Linked DNA regions of Homo sapiens: region 1 is linked to region 2. Evidence: promoter capture Hi-C in human tissues and cell types (Jung and others, 2019). All regions are on one chromosome and are shown on one strand. Each heading gives the region's core, a stretch centred on a gene start or on the middle of the fragment in contact. The rest is flanking DNA. Distances are from core to core; before and after follow the strand shown. Region 1 overlaps CTNNA1 (catenin alpha 1). Region 2 holds the start of LRRTM2 (leucine rich repeat transmembrane neuronal 2).

Region 1 (5,164 bases), core at 1,552-4,051, 47 kb before region 2:
TACCATCATTCTAATCTTTCTTGTCTGCCTAGATATACTTCTTTTCAGTGACTAAATTGGAATAATGAACAGAAATTTAATCAAGTGGAAGCAAATTTGGGATTAAAATACTTTCTTAGCATAATGCCATAATTACTTTTCATAAATGATGCGCTAGGTCTGTCCTGTGTACACAACTCTTAAGGTTAACTTTTTGGTGGGTTATGTGTTCTTAATTCCTACCCACAGTGCCTCTTGGCTTCCAGTAGATGGCAGCAGTATAAGTTTTTTTTTTTTTTTTAGGGCTTTAAAAGTAACTGTTGGGGCTAATTAAAAAAAAAAAAAACAAACCAAAAAACAGAAATTGTGTTCCAGGTGACCAGCATCCTTTCATAAAGTAGGGATGCTATGAAATATAGAATAAAAAAAAATTACAATGGAGTGCATTTTGTTTTTAAGTTTTTCCTTGCCTTTACCTTTTCTTTCTTTTGCCACTTTACTTTCGCTTAGGTAGCTGATCCTTGTTGATATGCATGGCCGATTTAAGACTTTTTCATAAAGCAAGAAGGCAGTGTTAAGTCTAAAGACCATGGTGTTAGAACTCAGTTTTTACCATGGAGCTTTAAACATTAAATTATTTTATAACAAACTCTTATGGTGCATGTTAAAATTTACTAGCAATGTTGTTTTTCCCCCCTTCAAAATTTGGCAGTATTAGGTATCTTTCAGGGTAGTAGCACATTTTGCCCTAAGTTGAGTAATATCTACCAGAAGCTACTTAACTTCTCAGGGACACAGGTATTTGTAAAATGAGGGTTTGTGCTAAATGATCTCAGGCTCATTGAGGCTCTGTTACTCTATTAAAATTCTATGACCATTCATTTCTCATTTTTGTTGGCCAGAAAGCATTTTGTATTCAGTTTTGACCAGAGAAATCCTGTAATAACCTAACCTTACAAAAAATGATCAGCTAAAATGTGTAGGTTAATAATGAACTGAAGGTATTGCATGTTCAGTTTGAAAACTGAGGGTTCTTTGGAAGGGAAGGAAGAAATGTATACTTATTGGAAAAGGGCAAGGTTTTGGTAGAAAAAATTTGGCATTTAAGTTGAAATCAATAAGGACATAGTCTCTGTAAAGAAAAATTAAAGCCATAATATTTGCACAGACATTTATCAGGGTGAGGATAAATTATATCAAGTGGAGGAATTGGAGGGAGGCCAGTAGCTGCTGTCTTGAGGATGCCGATGTTTCACCTTGTACCTATAGCTTACTTGTGACCAGACCTCACTAAATGCTAGAAAAGCTGGATGTAAGTGGAGTCAGGAGGGAAGGGGAGACAGAAAAAGGATTTATTCTTATTGGAGCAGTTCTTCCTCACAGCTTAGGTTTTTGGGAGGATTGCTATCATCTCTTACAGAATACTAGAGGTCTTTGAGGAAAGGAAGTCTCTAATTTAGACATAACAGGATAAATTTGAGACTGAATTATTTAGAAAACTTGATTAGATGTGTAAGATGAGGCAAATAGATGGAAATTCATTGTAAATGCATTTCTTTCTGAAACTTTAAGGTTAGAGATCAGTTTGTATGTGTGCGCACACGTGTATATATTTTAAGAGACAAAGTCTTGCTCTGTTACCCAGGCTGGAGTGCAGTGGCACAATCATAGCTCACTGCAGCCTTGAACTTCTGGGTTCAAGTGATCCTCCCGAGTAGCTGGGACTATAGGCGTGTGCCACCATGCCCAACTTATTTTATTTTTTTGTAGAGACAGGGTCTTGCCTCGTTGCCTAGGCTGGTGTTCAACTGGCCTCAAACAATCCTCCTTCAATCTCTCAAAGTGTTGAGATTACAGGCATAAGCCACCACACCTGGCTTGTTTGGCTTTTATTTTTTAATTTTTTTGTGGTGCAACAGTTCTAAATATCACATGGCAGTTTTATATTCTGCAAGTAAGAGGTAACTTTTATTTTCCTTGTAATTCTCATCTGATGATTTGAATTGCTAGTCTTATACGGGTTTACCTTTAGATGTTCAGAATAAGTTGTGTGAGCATGATATGTTTGTATTTGTGGTATCATACCTTATCATGCCTTGTTTGGCTACATAGCATTACTTCCACTGCTTTCTTTGAGGAGTGATCAACAGTAGGCCATCTTCTGTGGGACAGCCCCTTACCTGCTAAGAAGTATAACTTTCTTTCAGATGTTGGAATTTTTGTGTTAAATCTTGATATTACTAATAACACTTTTCTCACCTTGAATAAAGAAGGGAACAGAGATGAGTACTAACATTCGGTAATACTTTCTCTGCAGAAACAAATCATTGTGGACCCCTTGAGCTTCAGCGAGGAGCGCTTTAGGCCTTCCCTGGAGGAGCGTCTGGAAAGCATCATTAGTGGGGCTGCCTTGATGGCCGACTCGTCCTGCACGCGTGATGACCGTCGTGAGCGAATTGTGGCAGAGTGTAATGCTGTCCGCCAGGCCCTGCAGGACCTGCTTTCGGAGTACATGGGCAATGTGAGTTTGACAGCTTTTCTTTGAAGTAAGATATTTATGGATGAGGAGTTTTCTATAACATGTTGGATCTGAGATGTTTTCACTATAAATACCAAATATGTCCTTGACTCCTTGATTTTTGGGAGTAGGTCAGATTTTTAAAGAAATGGATAAATGGCTAAGTGGCTCTTTCCTCTCTCCAGCTTATTGAGAAATTTTCAACTTATAAAAATCATACAGTGAATACCTAGGAAATTTATCTGTATTCATCAATTAACATGTAGATACATGTGTAGGTGTGTGTATATATAAATGTATATGTATGTATGGTATATACACAAACATCCTTTTTTCCCCCGAAGCCTTTGGAAGAAAGTTGTAGACATTGTGATGCTTCACCTCTAATATTTTAGCATGCCTCTCCAAAGAATAATGACCTTCTATACCACTAAAGTTTCATTATCCCAAGTAGGTGGCTAATTTTGGGCAAAAGGGAATGTTGAAAACCTGCCTCCTCAATATTTATAGTTGTGAAAGTTTTTTCGTGAACCATATTGAATGTCACAAGAGTAGATAATTGCCAAGTAGAGTTACATAAAGCAAACTCTGGATAGTGTTTTTGAATTTTGAAGGTTTGTGCATAAAAACCCAGGCTATGAAATTTGATACCCACTTTTTTTTTAAAAGGCCATAGAAAATTCTATATTTGTTGATTTTTCTCTGTTGCCATATGTCTTTCTTTTTTTCCTTCGCTTATACTTCTTCTATTCTGGTTATTTAATGCTAGCTTAGGGTTCCTGTCATTTAGACCTTGGACCCAATATTTTACTGTAGCTAATTAGCAATAAATTAAGTAAAAATTATATGAAATCATTTTAAGGGGAAGAAGGACAACAACACAAATTAGTTGTCATCACTAGCGTTTTTTACCTGTTTAACACCTAAAAAAAAGATCTTGGTTCTTTCTCATTTGTTCGTTTGCCATACATCTTGTCTGTTCACTTACAGGCCTGTAAAAGTTAATGGGTGATGGTAAATCATGGTGGAATTCCTAGGGTGAAGATGAATGCCTTCCTCTGTTTATCTTGTCTCTACCATACTGTGAAATTAGTGATGCATATTGAATTTTTTTAAAGCCATTGCCCCCTGGGCATGATGGTTCAAGCCTGTAGTCCCAGCGTTTTGGGAGGCTGAGGTGGGTGGATTGCGTGAGCCCAAGAGTTTGAGACCATCTTGGGCAACATGGTGAAATCCCATCTCTACAAAAAATACAAAAGTTAACTGGGCATGGTGGCGCACGCCTGGTCTCAGCTACTCGGGAGGCTGAGGCGGAAGAATCGCTTAAGCCTGGGAGGTTGTGGCTACAGTGAACCATGGTCGCGCCACTGTGCTCCAGCCTGGGCGACAGAGCGAGAGTGTCTCAAAAAAAAAAGCCATGTTTTGATTATAGGCAGTCTACTTAAGAAAAATGAGATTAGAGGTTTTGTTAAATCAAATGGAAAAAGTGGTTTTTAAGTCACAGTGAAAATGTGGGACACATTTAAAAATCCATAGCTAAGATTGAACATTAGAAAATATTTTAAAAGATGGATATGTTGCAGAATGGCTCACAATGTTGCAGTCTTAAACAGGGGAACAAAAACTCATGGTAAGTGGATCAGTCATCTGCTATCATGGGTAGTGCTGGAAATGGTGTAAAAGTGTCTTATGTAGTTATGATGAGGAAATCACTTCAAAAACAGACTTTGGTGGGAAGGAGGATGTGATAAATCTGTTCCGATTGCTCCGTTTTAGAGCCTCCTAATCAGTCTATAAGATATCCCTTGAGTCTTGAGGTTGGTCACATTCTTGGGCCAATCACCCCTGGTCATGAGTAACCTTGAGGTTTCGAAACCTAGAGTGCCATACAAACAGTACTGTCTATTCATGCCATCAGTGTAAGAAAAGGTGGGAAGCACTCATTTATACTGAAGACATGGAGACTGCAGTAGCATTCTTAAATGAAAACTGGAACAATGTGTGATGTGAGGCTGAAATTTGAGTATTATGGTAGGGATCTTGAAAGAAATCTTGGCCGGGCACGGTGGCTCACGCCTGTAATCCCAGCACTTTGGGAGGCCAAGGCAGACGGATCACAAGGTCAGGAGATTGAGACCATCCTGGCTAACATGGTGAAACCCAGTCTCTACTAAAAATACAGAAAAATTACCTGTAATCCCAGCACTTTGGGAGGCTGAGGCGGGCAGATCACAAGGTCAGGAGATAGAGACCATCCTGGCTAACGTGGCGAAACCCTGTCTCTACTAAAAATACAAAAAAATTAGCCGGACATGGAGGCGGGCGCCTGTAGTCCCAGCTGCTCTGGAGGCTGATGCAGGAGAATGGTGTGAACCCAGGAGGCGGAGCTTTCAGTGAGCCAAGATCACGCCACTGCACTCCAGCCTGGGGAACAGAGGGAGACTCCATCTCAAAAAAAAAAAAACCCAAAAAATAAACAAACAAAAAACAGAAAAATTAGCCAGGCGTGGTGTGGGGGCCCCTGTAGTCCCAGCTACTCGGGAGGCTGAGGCAGGAGAATGGTGTGAATCCAGCAGGCGGAGCTTGCAGTGAGCCAAGATCGCACCACTGCACTCCAGCCTGGGCGACAGAGCGAGATTCTGTCTCAAAAACAAAAAAGCACAAAAG
Region 2 (4,796 bases), core at 514-3,013:
TGGAAACTGCCCAGCCAGGAGGCCAGAGCACATATTCGGGCGCTGCATTCCCACAGATTGCCAGAGAGACCAACGGTTGTGAGGGATCTCAGGGAGTTTAAGATCTTGGAATCAAGGCTGTTTAACTTGTTGTTATCCATGAGGAGTATTTTAAGATTGGGCATCGTTTCAAACACTGTCAAGTCGATGGCTTTGATTTCATTTCCAGTCAGGTCTAGCTTTTCTAAAGTGCCCCAGGTCCACTCCATCCCACATGTCAAGTTGCTGATTTTGTTCCATTGTAAGAAGAGCGTGTGCAGACTGCTTAGCCGTAGGAAATGAGCAAAATTAATCTTCGTCAGCTGGTTGTGCTCTAGGTGAAGCTCTCTCAGTTTAATTAATCCTGCAAATCCATTGCGAGCCAAACTTCGCAAACGATTTGTGCTCAAATCCAGAAACTCCAGACTACGACAGTCCCAGAACAGGCGTACTGGGATAGTCCGCAGGGAGTTGGAACGTAAATGCAAGGTCTGCAGCTTCCGAAGGCCATAGAAGAGCTCTGGGTGCAGAGATGACAGCTGATTAAAAGACAGGTCCAAATTTTGCAGGTTAATCAGTTGGGTAAAAGTTGTGTTTGGCAAGTAAAATATTTTGTTGGAACTTAAGATTAATTCCTTAAGTTTATATAGTCCTTGAAAAGCATCTTCTTTTACTGTTGAAATTTGATTGTGATCTAAGTGGAGCCAAGTAAGTTGACTGAAGCTGGCAAATTGATCTCTTTCGAGCTCTGTGATGTGATTGTGCCTCAGGGACAGGCCCAGAGAGCCCTTGTCTGTGGCGTTTGGCACTGAGTGGAAGCCCTGAGAGTCGCAGTAGAAGAGCAGCTTCTCGCAGCGGCATTTGGGTGGACACGCCATACCCAGGGCAGGCAGCATTTTTAAAACCATACTCATTGCATATATTGCTGCCAGCATAGGGGCCCCTAATGGCCACTTGAAATGTAAGCCTGCAGAATATAATTTAAGGAAAACAAGAAGATAGGATATTTTTCAGCAGAACATATGGGCTATTTAAAAAAAACAACCACCACCAACATTATAGCAAAAGATTTCACTGCATATAACTTATTTTTCATTTACTGCAGAAAAATTAACCTTATTGGTATGACTGGACCAAAACTTAAGCCATTTAAAAAGAAGATAAAACATGTCTCTGTCATCATCGATATATGCTTTTACCTAAACCTCAAAATCCAAAATATGATGGTGATTTCCCTCATAAAATGTGAATTCGGTAGCTTATTTTAAAAGCGTGATTCCTTGTTGAATGTACAAGACATATAAATGCACAGACTTACCCATTCTTCTGAGCACATTGGAGGCTGCATTCAGTCGCGGTTGTTAGACTCAACGCAGTGAGTCTGTAAAAGGCTCTAACATGTAGGAGCCTTTGACCAGTTTCCTGTTTTCTGTGTCCCAGGCTTTCCAAGTAAAATTGAATCCACCAGGACGAGTTGTTTTTTCCTTAGGATATCCCTCTGGAAAGCATTGGTTTCATTTTCTGTGATTGCTCTGATCCCTAAATCAGTTTTGAATATAAGTTATTAAATTTCTCCACCTCTAACTGCTCAGCTGGTTAATCAAAGCTTCAGTCTCCTTTCCGCAGCCGTTAGTTCTCTTGGTCTTAACTTGTTGATGGCAGATGGGTGGCTTGTTGCAGAGAAGAGCTCCTGGAGCAGCATGAGTGCATTTACTGAAAAGCTTTTCCGAGAAACGGCACAAGAATGGATTTGCTTATGTGCTGCGACCACACAGAACTGTATATAGGCTGACGTCACCGGATGACGTGTCTTTTGTTTGGGTTTTCCAGAAGCTTTACTGTTATAAAGCACCATGCTTTGTAACAGCATCGGGGTCGTTGCAGGACCCCCTGATTACAATAAAGCGAGAAAGAAGAACTCCTGACTTAAAAACATGATATTCCTTCAGTGTAGGAAGCAGCAGTGAGGTTGTAATAAAGGCTGCATTCAAGAAGACCCATCTGAACAGTGAGTTGGGTTAGCAGAGTGATGATTTTTAATGCTTGTGAGAGCCAGTGTTAGACTGCCGATTCTGCATAGAGAGATCATCTAAATGGGCAGAAGCCTGCACAATTTATGAAGTGCTGATTTAACACCAGCCTATGCAAGGTAGTGTCGCTGCACTGGTAGTTTGGAAAGCTATTCAGTTGCCTTGTTGTCATGCTTGGTTAAAATCAAAGTATGACTATGATTTGCTTTAGATGTGTTGATAAACTAGCTAAGTGGGCTTGGCTTGTTTGTCATCAAGAGCTTAACATTATAAACGAAGAATAAAGGGGGAGGGGAAGCTTGCAAAACAAAGCATGTGGTTATTTTTTTCTTTGAGAATTTCAGGGGAACTCTAAAAAGATTTCTCTTTCTCCTATTTTATAACAATGTTTTGTCGCCATACTGATTGAAAAAATAATGCTGAGTTGATCTTTAAATGTCCTCCTGGGAGGACAAGGCAGGTTGATACAGTCATTTTAATGCACATGCCCTAACAGCAAAGCAGAGATGATTTAGGACAAGTGATACCGTGTAGCTGGATTCTGACATGGCCCCTTGTATTTTACCTCAGAATCTCACCTACTCCATAACTAAAAGCCTCCGCTGGTACTGAGGTTGGTGGTTGTGACACTGAAATAATAGAGCATTTGCACCCTAGTTCCCAGCCACCAAGTGGCTGACTTAACTGAGCCTACTGCTGTTGTTAGAACCTGTCTTGTGAATACAAAAGGTCACTCATGCTTTGGACTGGGATTTTTGTTTTGACTTGATTTTGCTTGCCCTAACTCCAGTTTCTCCCTGTTGAATGGTGTCTTCACTTTTCAGACCTCAGTTGTGGATGTATAGCTCCATGTTTAGTGTTATATAAATGCAAAAGATGTTTCTAGATGTTATATTTTCAGGCCTGACAAAGGTAAGCCCTTTTCTACATCTTGCCTTATTGATTTGACCCAACATACCTATTTCTCCCATATCATTGGCACTTACCCTTTGTGGGTCTTGTCTCAGACCTAAGGACAGACATCTTTAAAACTACTGATGGTGTCTGTGAAACAAGAACATCGTTGGCCTTTTTGGTTCTGAGGGATTCATCCCACTGGGCAGATCTAAGAAGTAATTGTCTTGGGTAAAATTTTTCTGTTGTAGTGTTGTGCTGGAGTGAGAGCTGTGAGACTCCAAGGTCCCTTCCTTAGGGCTCTGTGTAAAGGTGCTATGAAAACTGCAGCAGTGCAGGTGTGTGGTTTGAGTCCTCCTAGAAGTGATCCCAAGGTAGAATTAGAAGTACAAGAGGCAAAAATGCCTACGAAGTACAAAGGGAGACAGAAGGCAGCAGGAATGCTCTGAGAGTCTTCGTACCACAGGGCAGGTCTGACACCTGTGAAGGGACAGAGGAAGCAAAGAAGATGAGATTGGCATTGTGGTTCTTAGACACATTTTGTAGGCTGAATGGAAATTCCCAAGCCAAAGTTGCCAGTGAACAGACTCTTGAGTCCTTAGTAATGAGCCTGCACTAGTACGTCCTCTTTGTTCCTTCTTGCTGGTTAAAGAAGGGAAGGAAACAAGTCCTGGTTTAGACCCGGGGAATGCTACTCCCCCTCTGACCTTAATCCTTCCTATAGTCTCTCTCAATAGGCTAGAACTTCTTAACCTGGTTCCATAAACTGTCTTGTGAAATTTTTTTGCTTGTTCATTTTTCTGTGGATAAGGTTGAGTCCGATTCCTACAGGGTCTCTCACCCTAGGTTTCAGAGCTGCTGTTCTACAGGAACTTGCCCCCAAAAGTTCTAAGGACAGTAGTCTCATAGGAGTGGTCTCTTAAATTTCTTTTTTTTTTTTTTTTTGAGACGGAGTCTCGCTCTGTCGCCCAGGCCGGACTGCGGACTGCAGTGGCGCAATCTCGGCTCACTGCAAGCTCCGCTTCCCGGGTTCACGCCATTCTCCTGCCTCAGCCTCCTGAGTAGCTGGGACTACAGGCGCCCGCCACCACGCCCGGCTAATTTTTTGTATTTTTAGTAGAGACGGGGTTTCACCTTGTTAGCCAGGATGGTCTCGATCACCTGACCTCATGATCCACCCGCCTCGGCCTCCCAAAGTGCTGGGATTACAGGCGTGAGCCACCGCGCCCGGCCAAATTTCTTAAATGAAAATAAGCCCTTGGGATGTTGTAAATGCCCTTATTGAAGTCAGCTACCCTCTGATGAAAAAAACCCTTTGCCACGCAGGAGAAGCTGGATTAAACTCTTCTCTCAAGTAACTACGTTAGTTCCTTGGGGAGAAAAGCATTTTAGTCAGTTGGATTAGAGCCACCATGATTAGGAATGAGTTGTGTGTTAACATGCAGAAGGAAAAGCATCTCCGTGCCCTTAAACTCTTGGTTTTTAGTCTGCTTGGCCTACCTCTTAAATACTAATAAATGGAGACTACTTAAATTATATTATCTCAGTACTATTATAACAGATTTGTGGGCAAGGAAAATTGCCCAGAGAAGCATCAGTGCAATCAAGAGTAATTATTTTTTGAAGGCCTCTGAGGAAGTGGGCACTAATGCTTGCAGTATCATGGTGCCCAGAGAGCACAGCCCCTTCCAGGTCACCAGCCATCTTTCTCACCTGCCCACTCTTTGGGTTCAAGAGGTTCAGGCTGTGGAACCAAAGAAGACATGGAGTTTGCCTTAAAATTGGTAGAGTGCAGAGTTCCCATTGATGGAATTGTGTATCATTTTTTGGTCTTTATCTTTCTTTAGCTAAAAG

Evidence for each region. The method cuts DNA at HindIII sites, captures the fragments that hold promoters and counts their contacts. A contact is called where the count stands out against the background at its distance.
Region 1: a fragment that was not itself captured here is called in contact with the fragment with the promoter of LRRTM2 in region 2 in 1 of the 25 tissues and cell types used here (hippocampus).

What each region holds. Positions count from the first base shown.
Region 1 is chr5:138,825,219-138,830,382 of GRCh38, forward strand. CTNNA1 (catenin alpha 1) reads left to right here. Exons shown (of 18, transcript NM_001903.5): 7 at 2,297-2,500. Among named protein-coding and RNA genes, the nearest start is that of LRRTM2, 48 kb to the right of the region's middle. RefSeq lists an enhancer at 3,281-3,781. The HindIII fragment of the contact is 9,361 bases long and covers 1-5,164 here.
Region 2 is chr5:138,873,572-138,878,367 of GRCh38, forward strand. It overlaps LRRTM2 (leucine rich repeat transmembrane neuronal 2), which reads right to left and starts at 1,764. Exons shown (of 2, transcript NM_015564.3): 1 at 1,337-1,764; 2 at 1-985. The coding sequence starts at 1,340. The region is part of intron 7 of CTNNA1 (catenin alpha 1); the gene reads left to right. The HindIII fragment of the contact is 3,441 bases long and covers 1-2,098 here.